Linked DNA regions of Homo sapiens: all the other regions are linked to region 1. Evidence: promoter capture Hi-C in 16 types of primary human blood cells and fetal thymus (Javierre and others, 2016). All regions are on one chromosome and are shown on one strand. Each heading gives the region's core, a stretch centred on a gene start or on the middle of the fragment in contact. The rest is flanking DNA. Distances are from core to core; before and after follow the strand shown.

Evidence for each region. Contacts are between HindIII fragments. The CHiCAGO score rates a contact against its expected background, and 5 or more counts as called.
Region 2: a contact is called between a fragment that was not itself captured here and the fragment with the promoter of MYCN in region 1, in 1 of 17 cell types (M1 macrophages). The highest score is 5.9, in M1 macrophages.
Region 3: a contact is called between a fragment that was not itself captured here and the fragment with the promoter of MYCN in region 1, in 1 of 17 cell types (M1 macrophages). The highest score is 5.2, in M1 macrophages.
Region 4: a fragment that was not itself captured here is called in contact with the fragment with the promoter of MYCN in region 1 in 1 of 17 cell types (activated CD4 T cells); the score reaches 5.7 in activated CD4 T cells.
Region 5: a fragment that was not itself captured here is called in contact with the fragment with the promoter of MYCN in region 1 in 3 of 17 cell types (M0 macrophages, megakaryocytes and M1 macrophages); the score reaches 7.8 in M0 macrophages.
Region 6: a fragment that was not itself captured here is called in contact with the fragment with the promoter of MYCN in region 1 in 2 of 17 cell types (M2 macrophages and M0 macrophages); the score reaches 7.2 in M2 macrophages.

The regions. Positions count from the first base shown.
Region 1 is chr2:15,939,207-15,941,909 of GRCh38, reverse strand. MYCN (MYCN proto-oncogene, bHLH transcription factor) reads right to left here and starts at 1,360. Exons shown (of 3, transcript NM_005378.6): 1 at 1,167-1,360. MYCNOS (MYCN opposite strand) reads left to right here and starts at 225. Exons shown (of 4, transcript NR_110230.2): 1 at 225-378; 2 at 813-936. RefSeq lists an enhancer at 1,232-1,762. The HindIII fragment of the contact is 19,196 bases long and covers 1-2,703 here.
Region 2 is chr2:16,442,590-16,445,292 of GRCh38, reverse strand. No RefSeq gene overlaps it. Among named protein-coding and RNA genes, the nearest start is that of CYRIA, 220 kb to the left of the region's middle. The HindIII fragment of the contact is 765 bases long and covers 1,019-1,783 here.
Region 3 is chr2:16,423,991-16,426,693 of GRCh38, reverse strand. All of the region lies in intron 2 of LOC107985855 (a long non-coding RNA gene), which reads right to left. Among named protein-coding and RNA genes, the nearest start is that of CYRIA, 240 kb to the left of the region's middle. The HindIII fragment of the contact is 823 bases long and covers 942-1,764 here.
Region 4 is chr2:16,336,616-16,339,318 of GRCh38, reverse strand. No RefSeq gene overlaps it. Among named protein-coding and RNA genes, the nearest start is that of GACAT3, 290 kb to the right of the region's middle. RefSeq lists a silencer at 954-1,117. The HindIII fragment of the contact is 2,230 bases long and covers 273-2,502 here.
Region 5 is chr2:16,300,047-16,302,749 of GRCh38, reverse strand. No RefSeq gene overlaps it. Among named protein-coding and RNA genes, the nearest start is that of GACAT3, 250 kb to the right of the region's middle. The HindIII fragment of the contact is 2,783 bases long and covers 1-2,703 here.
Region 6 is chr2:16,237,045-16,239,747 of GRCh38, reverse strand. No RefSeq gene overlaps it. Among named protein-coding and RNA genes, the nearest start is that of GACAT3, 190 kb to the right of the region's middle. The HindIII fragment of the contact is 1,765 bases long and covers 431-2,195 here.

The DNA of each region.
Region 1 (2,703 bases), core at 111-2,610:
GGGCAGACCGAGGGGATAGGCAATGGGCGCCCCCTCTAACCAGGTTCCCCAATCTTCCCTCCAAGCCCCCCACTCTGCCCACTGCTCCCGAAGGTGGAGGAAGTTGTGCCTCTCGCTCCCTCCCTCCCGCCCTCCTTTTGTGTACAAGCTGTCTACGACAGGGGGTGGGAGGGGGCATGCAGATGCAGGGGGTGGTGGCGAGGCTCCGCAACTTTGGAAACTGCCATTTCATTCACACAAGGCACTGCCTGGGGGAGGGGGCTGTTCCTGGCTGCAGAATTCTAGCTCTCACGAGCACGCAGACAACCGCACTCGCAGCGGTGTGGGGCCGGCTGCTCAGGGGAAGCCCCAGGCTCTCCGACCCAGCTACCGGGAATGGTATTTGGAGTACCTTCTACCCCCTTTGTAAAAATGCAACCTCAGGAGTGCAAATGATAGCAGGGGATTTAGAAAACTTTGCAAATAAAAAAAAGCCTTTCTCTAGACAGAGACCAACAACAGACACCCATATCCACAAATCCTTCCCCTCCCCAAATTTGAGCAAACGCCCCTCGGCATTCACCCGCTGCAGGGATACTCCTGCCAATAGCTTAATTGGAAGCTCTCTAAGCCCACCCCTGCTCTTCCAAACCCACGACAACGTCCTCTTCCAGGGAGGGAGAGGCTGAGCCCCTGTTCCCGGGAATGGCAGGGGCGCCCGCGCGAGGAGGGTCGCCGGGAGAGCCGCCTCTCCTCCAAGCTGGAGCAGCCGTGACCCAGATTGCGACCGCGGCGGCCTCGCCCTGCCTAATCCCCCCCTCTTCTTCCTCCAGGGGCACCCTTTGGAGAAGAACCCCAGCCTGGGGTGGGGACGCACCGGCTCTCCGACAGCTCAAACACAGACAGATCTTCTAGAGCCGAGGGAATTTCTTTTCGCAGAAGCCATTACTCCCCCCGGTAAGGGCTGCAAAAGGATTAGGGCGGGTCTCCTCTAGCCAGGATGCCTTCGGGGCTGGAACTGGCTTTTCTGGGAAAACCCAGAGATGGTTTTGTTTCGGAAGCAGAAACAGTCCCCCGGGCATATTAGGGCGCCCGGTGCGCACGTCGCAATCCCGTCCAGGGCTTGCCTTGCCCCGGCGCTCGTCGCTTCCCTGGGCGCCGGGCGGTTTGCAAGCCCTGCTCCTTACCTCCCGCCGACTGCAGGGGATCCGGAGGCGATTCTGCGCGGGTGTCTCCGGGTGGGCCGGGGGGGCGGGGGTGTCCTCGGATGGCTACAGTCTGTGCGCGCTTGCGCCTGGCTAGCGCTTGCTCGGCTCCAACACAGTTCCCAGGAGCCCCCCGCATCCACCCAGCGCGTCCAGACAGATGACTGTCACAGCCTGCGCTTTGAAGCTCGGGGGATATTATTAACTGAAAAATCTGACACACCCGGGGGGCGGGGAGAGAAGGGGGCTGTGGCGCAGACAAGGGGGAGGGAGAAAGGAGAGGAAAGCGGCTTTACCCCGCCCTCCTGATTTCCATAAAAATCAGGGGAGGCGCCAAGGCTTTCGCGCCAAAAGCCACTTGCTTTTCTTTGCAGAGAGAAGGCTGCAAAGCTGGGAAGCCCAGGGTGTGCTCCTCCCGCCCTTTTGGACCCCCGGGCTTGCACCGGCTGCACTCTGAGAACCAGCTGCGCGCGGAGCGGTGCAATGCAGCACCCACCCTGCGAGCCTGGCAATTGCTTGTCATTAAAAGAAAAAAAAATTACGGAGGGCTCCGGGGGTGTGTGTTGGGGAGGGGAGACCGATGCTTCTAACCCAGCCCCCGCTTTGACTGCGTGTTGTGCAGCTGAGCGCGAGGCCAACGTTGAGCAAGGCCTTGCAGGGAGGTTGCTCCTGTGTAATTACGAAAGAAGGCTAGTCCGAAGGTGCAAAATAGCAGGGAGAGGACGCGCCCCCTTAGGAACAAGACCTCTGGATGTTTCCAGTTTCAAATTGAAAGAAGAGGGGCGCCCCCCTTGTTTGAAAATAAATAAATAAATAAGTGCGAGCTACGAGGGTGGCGCCGCGGTGGTTTCTTCGGCCGAAGGCGACACCTCGCGGAGACTGAGCAGAAAGCGGAGCTGCCCGGCCTTGGCGCGGACCTGGAGTGCGGCCACTCCGCAGGTCTCCCGCCGCCCCCGCGGGACTGTCCACGCGTCCTCACCACTGCGGAGGAGGAGGCGGCCTGGCTCTGCTTCCTAGGGGGAATGGGCGTACGTTCCCTGCAGCCGTCCCCAGGGCTCCCAAGTTAACCTTTTCAAAGCCACCATTCTCCCCAGTTATGGGCAGGCGAATCTGATTTACCGAGATGGAAGTGCTGTCCACACCTCCTGAGACCCAGCCTCGGCTCAAACAGCTTGATTCCAAACTGTTGAAGGGAAAAAGGAAAGCTGCTGTCACTACTTCGTTTCTTTGTGCCTCAGTTTCCTCAATTGTGAAATGGAGTTCGTAGTGCCTCCTACCTGAGAGTTATGAAAGCTCTTATAAGTCCCCAGCCCATAATAGTTGTGTCAGCTATTATTATGATGATGACCACGACATGCTATTCTTCTGGGGAAAATAACACCCCTCTGTCCAGCAGCAGCATTGGCCCCTTCCCTTCCCGCCACCATCAAATCCTGGCTTTACTTCACTCTGGTCTAGCTTTTCTTACAGGTGTATTTGTTTGCAGGGGGTCAGACATTATTGCCCCTGCCCTCCAAAC
Region 2 (2,703 bases), core at 152-2,651, 500 kb before region 1:
GCAGCCTAGAACAATAGTAAATAATTATTATTTCTCATAATTTTTGTGGGTCAAAAATTTGGAAGCAGCTTAGCTGCATGGCTATAGGTTAGGGTCTCTCAGGAGGTGGCTTGATGAAGGCTGGAGGATCCACTTACAAGGTAGTCTCTCACCAGATGCCAAGTTATTACTAGTTGCAGGCAAGAAGCCTCAGTTCATCACCAAAAGACTTCTCCCAATGGCTGAATGTCCCCACAGCATGGAAGCTCTGGCTTCCACCAGAGCAAGGATCCAAAACAGAACCAGGTGGAAATTGCAGTGTCATTTACAACCCAGCCTCAAAGTCACAAACCATTATTTTTATGAATGTATTGTGTCAGTGACACAGGTCAGTTTTATTCCAAGTGGGAAGGGGCCATACAAGGGCATGGACCTCAGATGCAAGAATCACCAGAGCCTTCTGGGAGGCTGCCTACCCTATGATTCATGTTGCACATGCAAAACTGCTCACTCTCTGCGCAGGCCCCCAAAACCTCATCCCGTTATAGCATCAGTTATACATCCAAGAGCTCATTATCTAAATCAGATGCAGACAAGTCTCCTTAGGCCTGGTTCCTTGAATACAACCTCTCCAAATCAGTTTATCTAAAACTGAAGACACCAGTTATCTCCCTCCACACACCCAACAAACAAACAATAGTTGGGCAAGAGTAGGATGACTACTTTAGACACATGTCCTCAATAAAGGGGGAAATGGAGGCATATAGGAGTCACTGATTAAGGGCAATTCTGAAATCCAGCCAGGCTCTCGATGAAAGTTCATTAAGAATCCACTCCATTCCTACCCAAGAATTATTCTCCATGGCTCTTGACTCCATCTTCTGATCTCTTGATTCTACTGTTTTAGTCATTCTTCCTTTTCCACGAAGGCAGCATATTTTTGTAGCTGATTACTCTTTGTGGTCTGTTTCCCGTCTTCAGAAGTTTAGGTGTCCAAAGACCCCTTTCCACTTTATACTTTCTCCTTTCTATGTAAGCTTGGCAGTGTTTCTGCCCAATACAACTTGAGTCAAAACTTTGCAGGTCACTAATAAATCAGTTTCTTACCATGTGGACCTATTGATAGAGCTTCTCTGTTGACCTTGCCAGATAGCAGCTAGCTTCCCCTAGAGCAGGTGATTTAAAAGAGCAAGGAGGAAGGCACAGGTTTCAGAACTCAGTCTTATTCAGTGTTTGATGTTATACAAGGTCATGGACATCAGAAAGTAGAGATTAGGGGAGCCATTTTAGGGGATGGCTTTACATTGGGCTAGGGTTTATGAGGCAAGTTAATAATATTTAATATCTATTATGAAATAGATGTTTGTGTTCCCACCCCCAAATTTGTATGTTGAAGTGCTAACACTTAATGTGACTATATTTGGAGATAGGGCTTGTGATGAGGTGGTAAACGTTAGATGAGGTCACAAGAACCTAAAGTCAGAAGATGCATTAGTCTGATAGGGCTGGTGCCCTTATAAGAGGAGGAAGATACAAGATGGGCTCACTATCTCTCTCTCTTGCACTCTTCACCATGTGAGGACACAAAGAAAAGGTGGATGCCTGCAAGCCTGAAAGAGAGCCTTCACTAGGAAACGAACTGGCTGGCACTTTGATCTTGGATTTTTCAGCACCAGAACTATGAGAAAATTAATTTTCATTGTTTAACCACCCAGTCTGTGGTACTTTGTTATGGCAGACTGAGTTAGTGGAATATGATGTCTTTTTATTGCATTATCTGTATAACTTTTGAATGCCCCAAGCTTTCCAAGATCACTCCAATATGCTGTTAATTTTATTCTTTTTGATAAAAATTAATTAATTAACTAAAAATAATGTATTGTTGTACTCTTTAAGAGTACACACTAAGAGTGACATCATAAATCAAAGAGTCTTTTGCCAACCATGGGTCCTGATTTTTATTCCAGAAGAGAAGATCACCGCCATTTATATATGTCCTTTCCAATCAGAAAGCAACCTATCCAACTGAACCATGGAGTTATGTTACAGGAAGTACAGTATTACTCCAGTAGATCTGAAGCTCTCCCTAGGCAGAGCTGCCACTCATCACTGCATAGCTTATGCACTGTTCAACCCTAGGGGGCTCCATTTAATTAGGGTGTATCTGAATATCACCTGGTAGAGTTTATACAAGTGACATCTTCTAAATTTGAGCAGAGCACTACCTGCATAACCATATGCAGAGGTCTTAAACCCAATATGAGAACCTGTGCTTGCTTTCAGTAAAGCCAACCAGATAACACTGCTCAGCCTTGAGCCTTACCAGCTGCAGGCAGCTTTTATCTTCAGAAGAAAATGTCATCTCTCCATTCAATTCTCCACAGATGAGGCCACTAAGCTATAGTTAGAGAGAAGACTTCAGGGTTCTCCTACCCACCTAATTCTAGCTAGAGCTAGAAAGATCTGTCTTCTGAAGCAGCTAAGACTGACTTTTTGGAGCACTGGCCGATCTCTTGTTTTGCTGGTAGAGTTGCTGAAAGACTTACAGTTGAGCCTGAGCACAAGAATTTGCCAGCTATGGGGGCTCCCCTTTCATGCTCTTAACTTCTTCCTCCTACAGGTCCATCTGTCTTTCATTACCTAGAGGTCCACAACACTCTTTATTCACACAATCTCTGAAAAAGATGCAGAGGAACTTGCACGCCCCTGGAGATGAGTAACTGA
Region 3 (2,703 bases), core at 104-2,603, 480 kb before region 1:
AATCATTCATATTCAATTCAAAACAGTGCTTTTCAAATGTCAGGAAGTTGGAAGCTACTCCTTTATTCACAATTTCCATGTAGTTTAGAAAAAAAAAAGTATTTGTCTTCTATTATTTCTTATTCTTCCCTATGTAATTAGAGGAAGGCTATAAAGTCTTATTAAGACAATCTCTAGACTTTTTAAATTACATGAACAATATAAAGCAAATAGGCCCTTTTAGGGAGAGGGATTTTTTTAAAGATTTGCATTTCCAGCAGAGCCATGAGTAACAGAGCCAGTGTCAAGGAGAGTGGATGCCACCAGCGTTCAATGAAGAAATTGTATGATCTGCCATTTAGCAATTTCACTTCTGTGTCTTTTTTCTCTTCCCTAAACCTACACCCCCAACTCAGTTTCTTTTTTTTTCCTCTGTTGCTGATCCAGATGCTCCAAAGAAATCAATATTTGTTGATTTTAGGACACAGGCAGTAAATCTGGAGTATTTTCAGCTTGAAGGTGTTTCTCTCTAACCCTGCTGAATAACATGGTGACTTTGCTACTCAGAGTTTAGGTGAGGCAACATGTGACTCCAAGGCATGTCTGTAAAAATGTCCATGGAGCAAGAAGGAGACTCATAACGTTGCTTTTTCAAAGTGCAATAAAACACCCAAATCTACCAAGAGCTAGTGGGCCCTTGCACATGACAATTAAACATTAACAGCCCCAGGGCCCTGGGAGCAGGGCCCAGCAACCCTTTGAAGCCCTGTTTGCCAATTAAACACCGTCTGACATTCGAGTCAAGGTGGCAGGGATCCAAAGCAGAGATAGGAACGTCAACCACTTCAGGGGCATTCATTAGCTCCCCAGACATTCCTGGCGTGGCCTGTTTCTTTACTATTGCCAAATCCACACCCTGCTCTGGAACTCAGGGGCTCTGAGAAAGTTTACTCAGATAAGCTTATTATGGAAATAGCACTTTGTCACCGTTTACTACTCACTCCTTGTTCAATTATCTTTTATCTGTTTAGAGTATTTGCCAGCTCTCCCAAGGTTCCCTGGGATGAGGCCACTGGATTGAAAGTCCTCACTGGGGCTGTAGAAGGGGTAGGGGGAGGTACCACTCTGTGCTTGCCTTTCTGGTCCAAGAATGCTGAGCTCTCTCCAGCATTTTGGAAACTGCTAAGAGGGTACTAGTAAAAGATCTTGTATTTTCTGATCATGGGAAAAACTGCCCAACCTTGAGACAGAGACCTAGGTATCCTGAGGCCCCACAGTCAGCAGAAAGAAGGATGGTGTGTCATTTTGATTATAATAGTGAGCATTTAATGCATATTACTAGGGCAGAATGATGAGCAGGGAATTTCACCTACTCCCTACCACCATTCATATTAGACGCTCTCTCTCCGAATTTATGCATAGCTTTGGAACCAATATAATTGAGGTTTTTGTTGGTGAGCCTCAGTCAAATCCCAGTCGCCACCATCACCACGGTTCCTATTGAGTCATCTGGTCTATTATCGTTGTGGAGTACCATTTTTGTATTTTAATGCCTTCAGATTGAATGACTTCTCTATGGTGAACTCATCCCAGATGTCAGGATGCATGTTGCATTTTTGCTGCTGTGATGGTTTTAAAATATGCCCATAAGTTCTTTGATACTCCTCCCATCAAAAGGTAGAGATTAATTACCTTTCCTCTGAGTATGAGCTGAAATTACTGACTCACTTCTAACCAACAGAATGTAGTGGCATCCAAATTTAGGTAATACAGGTCATTGAAGCTTCTGTCCTGCTCTTTCTCTCTTATTGCTGGCTCTAGTGGAAGCCACTACCAAGCCATAAGGAAATGCAAGAAGCCCTGTGGAGAGGTCCCTGTGGAGAGGTTCACATGGGGAAGAACTGAGGCCTTCTGCCAAAGTCCATGCAACCGAGCTTAGATGCAGATCCTGCAGCCCCACACAAGCCTTAGATGGTTTGTCCCAGTTGACAGCTTCAGTGCAATCTCAGCAGAGTCAGGACCACTCAGCTGATCTGCTCCCAAATTTGGGATAATTTGTTACGCAGCAATAGATAACTAATATACCTGCCTCAACTAATTGCCAAGGAACTGCAAAAGGATCCCAGGCAAGAGTCACCAGACCTTGTTGTTTACAGGCTGTGTGACCTTGGAAGATTTACTCACCTGCTCTGGACTTCAGATTTCTCTGTTGATACTTGCTGTTCTAGTTGATGTGAGAGTCAGTGAAGTGTTTTTGAGAAATTAAGAGTTCTCTGATATCATAATTGTATTGTTGTCCAGAATATCTTCTTCTGCAGTGATTCCCCCTCTTGCTTTCATGCTTCAGCTAAATTAACCATTTCTCCTCAAAAGAGGCAGCTTCACTTTTGCCCTGTGTAGAATGTCCTCTCCCTATTCTAATTATCTAAAAAATGAAATATCTCTGTGCATAATGTGCTCAGCTGTTCACCTGCAGCACAATGTCTTTCTGTTCATTCTTCCTTCTAACAGAACCCAGATCACTTTCAGAAAGTCACCTGCTCCCAAGCTACTCCTTATCCCCAGTTCTAAGAGGAAACTTTGATCGATTCAAGCCAATCAGAGTTATCTCCCTCCCTTTGTCAGTGACTGGTTTAGTATCTGTCATGTAATGCAATTCTGGCCAATGCTCTGGGGGAATTCTGGGAATGTTTTTCTTGCTTCAGAGAATGAGAAAAAGACGTT
Region 4 (2,703 bases), core at 138-2,637, 400 kb before region 1:
GGCTTTTCTTTTGCTGTTTGTAAAAATTTACTTTGTCTTCGACTTGACAGTTTGACCATAATGTGCCATGGAGGAGATTTTTTTGAATTGTATTTATTTGAGAATCTTTGTGCCTCCTGTATCCAGATGTCTAATTTTTAAATAAACTTGGGAAGTTTTCATGTATTGTTTCATTAAATATGTTTTCTTACCCTTTCATTTTCTTTTTGTCTTCTGGGCCAAAAATTCAAATATGTGGTCATTTTACAGTGTCCCATATATAAATTTAAGCTTTGCTCATTCTTATGTACTCATTTTTATCTGACTGGATTTTGCAAAAAACCTATCTTCTAGTTCTAAGATTCTTTCTTCTGCTTGATCTAGTCTATTGTTGCAGCTCTTGAATGTATTTTGTATTTAAATTAATTAATTTTTTATGTACAGAATTTCTATTTGGTTATTTTTTATAATATCTATCTCTTTGGTAAATTTCTCATTCATATCATGAATTGCTTTTCTGACTTTTTTGTATTGCTTTTCAGATTTCATAAATTTCTTTTTGATTGTTATCTGTTGCTAGAGAATTCTTGTGTTCCTTTGGAGGTGTCATAGTTCCTTGTTTTTTTATGTTTCCTGTGTCCTTATGTTGATATCTGCACATCTAGCATAACAGTCTCTTCTTCCAATTTTTTAATTTGATTTTTTGGGGAAGGACATTTTCCTGAAGATGTATCTGTGGAGTTGGTTGAGTATGGTACTTTGGCTTTGATTCTGGGATTGTGCAGTAGTGTAGTCTCTGTATGATTTCTTTGGCTAAAAACAGCATCAGTGGTATCTGTGATTTCCTCAGTGGCTTAGGGTGCAGTTGTTAGTGGAGGCAGTGGTGAAGTTCTGCTGGGGACTGAGACACCATGTGGGCCAGTCTTCAGGGCCCATTGATGGCAGCAGCAGGCTGAGCATGCCTATCCTTGGGCACCAGGGTTGTATATGCTGGCATGTGTTAGCCAGTCCAGGAAGTCTGATTATTGGCCTTCAAGGTGGCTTGCTCAGGTGCCAGGAATGACAGTGGTGGGCTGGGCAGGTGGATTATTGAGCCCCTGGGCAGCAGGTGTGGCATGGGCAATCACAGTAGCAGTGGTGGGACAATCTTTGGGACCCAAGAGATCCCTGCTGTTTTTGATGATGGCTACAATGGGCTGGATGGGCCAGTCCCCAGGTCTGCAGGTGGCACATGCAGATGAGTGGCAGCTGTGGTGGTAGTAACAGGTTCAGGGGGTTCAACCTCAAATACCAGAAGGACTGCTCAGGTGTCAACAGTGGTAGGCTAGATTGGGTGATACCCACCCCCCTGGATGGTGTGCTCAGGTACTCAAGTTTCAGTCTTTGAGGATGAACCTCCTACAGTCATGTGTTGCTTAACAACAGGAATATGGTCTGATAAATGCATCGTTAGATGATTTCATTGTTGTGCAAACATCACACTTACACAAACCTAGGATGGTGTAGCCTACTATGAACCTAGGCTATGTGGTATAGCCTATTGCTCCTAGGCTACAAGCCTGGACAGCATGTTACTGTACTGAGTACGGTAGGCAATTATAACATTATGGTAATTATTTGTGTACCTAAACATATCTGAACATGGGAAAGGTACAGTAAAATATAGTACAAAAGATTTTTTTTTAATGGTACATTTATATAGGGCGCTTACCACGAATAGAGTTTGCAGGACTGAAAGTTGGTCTGGGTGAGTCAATGAGTGAGGGGTGAGTGAATGTGAAGGCCTAAGATATTACTGTATAGACTTTATAAACACAGTACACTTAGGCTACACTAAATTTATGAGAAAAATAAAGTAATTGCACAATGACGTGGTGGGAACAGGGAATAAGAATTTTTCAGCTCTATTATAATCTTATGGGACCACCATTATATAAGTGGTCCATCGTTGATGGAAATATCCTCATGTGGGGCATGACTATGATTTGTAAAGCAACTGATAACTGTTGGAAGATAGCGAGTGGAGAGAACCGTTTTCCAAACTGCCCCTTACCCATCGCAGTCAGCCCCTAACACAGGCCCCCACTAATTCTTTTGAGCCTGTTGACAGCCGACTCCTTAATGCTTGTGTCTATCTCTGACATCCATTGTGCGCTCCCCGCTAACATACTTACAGCTCCATGGCAAGGTGAGATCAGAGCTGTCCAGAGGAGATTAGTAAAGCAGACAGGAGGACAGGTTAAGCTGCCCCTGACCTCTTATCCCACTCCCGGCACCCAGACCCCACCCCGTAGTTTGCTCTTGGGTGTGCAGAGGTGCTCTCTCCTCTTCCCTTCTGTTGTGCTTTCCCCAAATGACCAAGCAGACCTATTTTATCAATATTGAAAATCAAGCAAGTTGCACTCTACAGATGCCCTCTCTGGCTGGGGATCTTTCTCTGATGAAGTTTGGTGTGGCTGCCAAGTATGGAGAGTGCAGAAGAGGCCACAGATACTGCTTCATGAGCTCAACAAGACCTAAGCTTTTGAACAGTGCTTTGCAGCACCAGAGAAGCTTTAGGTACATAATGAGATTCTCTCTGCCTGGCTTCTTGAAAATCCCAAGCATAAGTATTGCAAGTCAGCGTGGTTCTGCAGGAAGAGTATGGGTTAGAAGGTAGGAAGCCTGGGCCCTGCATGGCACCAGGGATGACAAGTCCCATTCCCTTTAGATTTTAGTTTCCTC
Region 5 (2,703 bases), core at 115-2,614, 360 kb before region 1:
TGAAAAATAAGGAAGGCACCCTGTGTAGCCCCAGAAGGCTGATGGGAGTAAATTACATGGTGAAGATATCAGCTTAATATAGGAGGACTTGTCTTAATGATCAGAGCTGCCCAACACAGCGGCTGAAAACTACAGCCAGCCGGCCAATCTGCCCTGCCACGTATTTTTGTTGGTGTAGAGAGCTAAGAATGATTTTAATATTTTGTAATGGTTGGGAAAAAGCAAAGGAAGAATAATATTTTACAGCACATAAAAATTATACGGAATTCAAATTTCAGTGTCCATAAGTAATGTTTTCTGAGAACACACCTACATCCATTTGCTTACATGTTATTTATGGCAGCTTTGCACTATAATTGCAGAGTTGAGTACTTGTGACGGAAGCCATACCATCTGAAAAGCCTGAAATATATTTACAATCTGACCCTTTCCTGAAAGTTTGTTAACCTCTTTTCTTAGCAGTGGTTCTCAGAATCACCTGGAAGCTGGTTAAAACCCAGTTTGCTGGACCCACCCTCAGAATCCCTAACTCAGCAGCTTTGAAGTGGGCCAAGAATTTGCACCAAGTCTCCAAGGGATGCTGGTGCCTTTGATCCAGGGACCACACTGCTCAAGAGGCACTCATCACAGGAGTAGTCAACTCATCTCCATGGAGCATGTGTTCCCCGCAAGCCCATACTCTTCCTGAGGGTAGGAACTTCAATTCTGTTTTTTTCCACAATGGGACAATGCTGGAGACTTCCTAAGTATTTGTTGAATGAATTAACGAATCTGTTAATTATTTTGACTTTTTGATCTTTGGGGACTTTCTAATTTCCTCTGATTGCAGGGGAAGTGCTCTAGGAAGGAAGATCCAAAGGAAAGGAGAAAGGAAAAAAGAGAAGAAAAGAAGGGGGAAAGGGAAGGAGCTCTCTTCACAAAACAAGACTTTTTGGTAGTGCCTAGGGGTATCCTTGTGCCTCTGCTTCAGTGTTCAAAGGTATATAATATTCTCTTCGGCTTTCCCAGTCACTTTGAATGAGGGAGATTGTAGGCAGGAGGGTAGACTGCATATAACACTCCTCATTCCAAGGACCCATCCCATGGCATAATGATGCTTTGTGTCTCCATAATGACCTTTGGATTCTGAAGGTATTATATATGCATATCTAATTTTAATGATCTGATGTATTTCTCCCAATCTTTTTTGTAGACATTTTATTTTTGTATTAAGATTGTGTTCCACGGATAATTTTATGTCCTTTTAAATTTAACATTCACTCAAAATATTTTTCCTATGACATTATAAATTCTATATAATATCCTTTTTATACAGAATATTGTCTCATGTGTACATACCATAATCAATTTAGCTATACCCCTACTGTTAGATATCTATGTTTCTCCTGCTACTCATGCTTTTCCTGGTTGTTTTGCTATTATAATCTTCATTGCCTTGTGAACCATTATTAGTCAATTCTCCTTCTGATTTTGAAAATTATTCTTTAGAATAGAGTTTCACAAAAAAAGGCTATCAAAAAGACATAGAAGAAATAAAATGTTAAAGTCATAAGGGACTACCTTGCTGCAACTCTGTACAAGTAAATAAGAAAAAAATAGATAAAATAGGTATTATGGAAAAAACACAACTTACCAAAAATAATACTTACAAAGACAGAAAGTTTGAACTAACCATTTTTCTTAGAGAAAATAATGAATGCTAAAGAACTCCCCTACAATAAAAGCACCAGCCCTGAATATTTTTTCATAGGAATTCTATCACATTTGCAAAAATCAAGAATCCCAACTGCTCCTGAAACTATGTTACAGCACAGAAAAGCAAAGAAAATCCTCCAGTTCTTTTCTATAAAGAATGTGTCATTAAAACCAAAAACTAACTGCATCAAAAAAAGAAGACAGATCAATCTTACTAAAGAATATCAAAGAGTGCCAGGTGCAGTGGCAGGTACCTGTTGTCCCAGCTACTCAGGAGGCTGATGTGAGAGGATCACTTGAGCCCAGAGATAGTGCACTGTAAACGTACTTGTGAATAGCCACTGCACTCCAGTCTGGAAAATGTAATGAGACCTCATATCTTCAAAAAGTATATACATATATCAAATAAAGCATTAGTAAACAGAATCTGTCAGCATAAACAAATAAACAACTAAAAAGCAAAAAACAACAGTGGTTTTCCTGGCATGTTGCATCCAGGAATGCAAAGATGGTTCAACACTAGGAAATCTCTTAATAGAACCCATCATTATAGCTAAGGAGGGAAAAAAATGACATACTTATCTTCCATTTACTAACTATATCTCAAATTCACCACTCATCTATGTAAAAATTATTCAACAAAATAAGAGCTGACAGTTAATGCTGCATGATTATATTATGATTGCACACACACATACGTAAATGTCAACTCAAAAGCCAGCATCCTACTTAATAGTGAACTAAGAAACACTAGAGGCTTTATCTCTAAACTTAGAAACAACACAAGATATCTAAAATCTCTATTAGTTTTTACCACTGTTTCAGTAATTAACCAATGTAAATAGACAAAAACAATGAAACTAGAGGTTAAGAATTGAATAATAAAAATAAGACTTTATCATTTAGGTTGAGAACCAAAAGAATCAACTTAAAACTACTGTGAACCATGAGAATTTAGTAATTAACAACTCAATATATGCAAATTAATAACCTTTATATATTAAATAC
Region 6 (2,703 bases), core at 64-2,563, 300 kb before region 1:
ATTGCACCATTCTGGGTTGCTGCCCTGTTGGAGAGACCAGTGACTGCAGGGGTCCCCAGACATGCTGCCATAGAGATCTGGGAAGATTCTTCGTAAATACAGTCTCCTCCAGAAATGCGGATTTACTCACTCACTCGCTCATTCATTCATTCATTCCTTCATTCTGCTGCTGCTGCTGCTGCTGCTGCTGCTGCTGCTGCTGCTGCTGCTGTTGTAGCTTGTTGTTGTTGCTCTGTCTCTGATGCCCACATGATTCCGGTGATCGGTCAGATCTGGGAATGGCTGGGCTGAATGACCTCTGTGAATGCTTTCAATTTCAACATCTTGATTGTTGTTGACACATTGTGGGGACCTCACAGCTCCTCAGAAAGAGGATTTCATTTAGAATCTGACACATCGCTTCTTCTTTTAGCAAAAGTCAATAAAAGCTTTTCAAAGAAAAACTCTCCAAAGCAATACAATTTGAGAGACAAAAACAAAAAAGAGAGAGCTCATTGATTTAAACCAACTTGGAACCCTAGCAAAGATCAGTTCACGGCAAATCAAATCAATTGTTGACAGAATGATGCCAAATACTCATATTTTTAGGGTCTTTTAGATAAAAAGGAAAAGACATTACTTAGACATTTAGTAACTTCTTGTCATATATCCAAAGTCCAACAGGTAAGGAGAGATCTTGATGAATGGCTGCTTTCTTCCCATATACTCTGCAAATGTACAAGGCTCATAACATACAACTGTAGCCAGGGAATGTTACCACTCTGCAAACCAAAACCTAGTTCTAGAGACAGGGGTGGGGGCACAGGCCTGTAATCTCAGCTACTCTGGAGGCTGAGGCAGTAGAATCACCTGGGCAACATAGCAAACCTCAACTCTGGAAAAAAAAAATTAGTGAAACTTATCTCTGGAAAAAAAAAAAAAGGAAAGGAAAAAGAATTTTTTTTTTAATGAAGTGAAAGTTGATTCTCGCCTCCAACTATTTTTTTAAGCCATCTTTGTTCAAGGCCAGCGTCCAAGAGGACAGGCAAGACATTCCCCAGGAATGAAAGGAGAGGGAAGAAGGAGGACAAAAAAAGGAGGTAAATCCAAGTTCCTAGAAGGCCTGCGTTTGATCACACGATACCTATTTTCAGTAACCTTGGGGGCTGCAGATTCCTCAGCCAGGCTGCCTGCCCTCAGGAATTCGACCTGCTCCCGCGAGCTCACCTTCTTCTGCTCTGGTCATGCCAACACCCTCACTCACTGCCTTGGCCCCATGGGATGCCCATTCACCCCTACCTGTGGAGCTTGTTTATAAAGGGCTTAGGAGGTTGAAATATTACCTCTGCCTATTACTAGCCATACCATCCTTTGCTTACATTTTTCTCATCTGTATAATGGGGATCATAAATGTTCCTATTTCAAAGAGAGATAATAAATGTGAGAATTAAATGGGCAAATGCAAGCAAAGCATGAGAACAGGACAGTGTGCATAGTGAGTGTGAGGCGAATGCATGCTCTGGTTATTTTAAATCGCATGATGTTCATGTTTGAAGCCACCCTCCCCACGCTGGCTTTTTTCATCACATGTCTCACTGCGTGGGAATTTTTCCATGACTGTTGCCTGCTCTAGGTGATGTGTTCCCTGTGGGAAGGGTCCACTTAAATATAAATCCCCAGAACTAACACAAGGGTTGGCCCAAAGAGCACTTAACAAATGTTGAGGGAATAAATGAATCAACAGAAAGTCAGTGGTTTAAGGCATTTAGACAACTATGTGAATCTCACAACTACCCCGTGAGATTAGATAAGCAATTATTATCCTTCCCATTTTATGGTTTGAGCAACTAAGGCCCTGAGAGATTAAATGATTTGTTTAAGGCCGGGCAAGGTGGCTGATGCTTGTAATCCCAGCACTTTGGGAAGCCGAGACAGGCGGATCACTTGAGCCCAGGAGTTTGAGACCAGCCTGGGCAATATGACTAAACCCCATCTCTACTAAAAATACAAAAATTAGCCAGGTGTCATGGCACATGCCTGTAGTCCCAGCTACTTGGGAGGCTGAGATGGGAGAATTGCTTGAGCCTGGGAGCCAGAGGTGGCAGTGAGCCTCAATCATGCCACTGCACTCAGCCTGAATAACAGAGCCAGACCCTGTTTCAAAAAAAGAGAAAGATCTCTTTAAAGTCCCATGGGTAATAAAGGGGAAATAAGCTTCCTGTGCATTGTCTGACACCATGAGGTTTTTTGCAGGTCTGACTCCATATTCTTACTGATGGGGAGATATGGATAGTCTTAGAAAGAAGTGCTTTAACTAACTCTTAATGTTAGTGAAGCATTTTCTAGATGGAGAACATAAATAATGATACTCTAGGTGAAGGATGCCGTATGGTCATAGGCAATGGCAAGCATGCAGGGGGAATACAACACTTTTGTACGAGATTCCAAGTTTCTTGAGGCCAGGGGCTTCATTGTTCCCCCAATGATTACCACCACAGAGCTCAAGTGTCTGGCACAGAGCAAGCAAGCAATTGCCTGTTGAAAGAATGGATGGATGGGTGGGTGGATGGATGGATGGATAGATGGATGGATGGTTAAATGGGAGGATGGATGAATGGATGGATAGATGGATAAATGGGAGGATAGATGGATGGATGAATGAATGGATGGATGGATGAGTTGGTGGATAAATAGAGGAGAAAATTAGAGAAAAAGAAGCTCCTC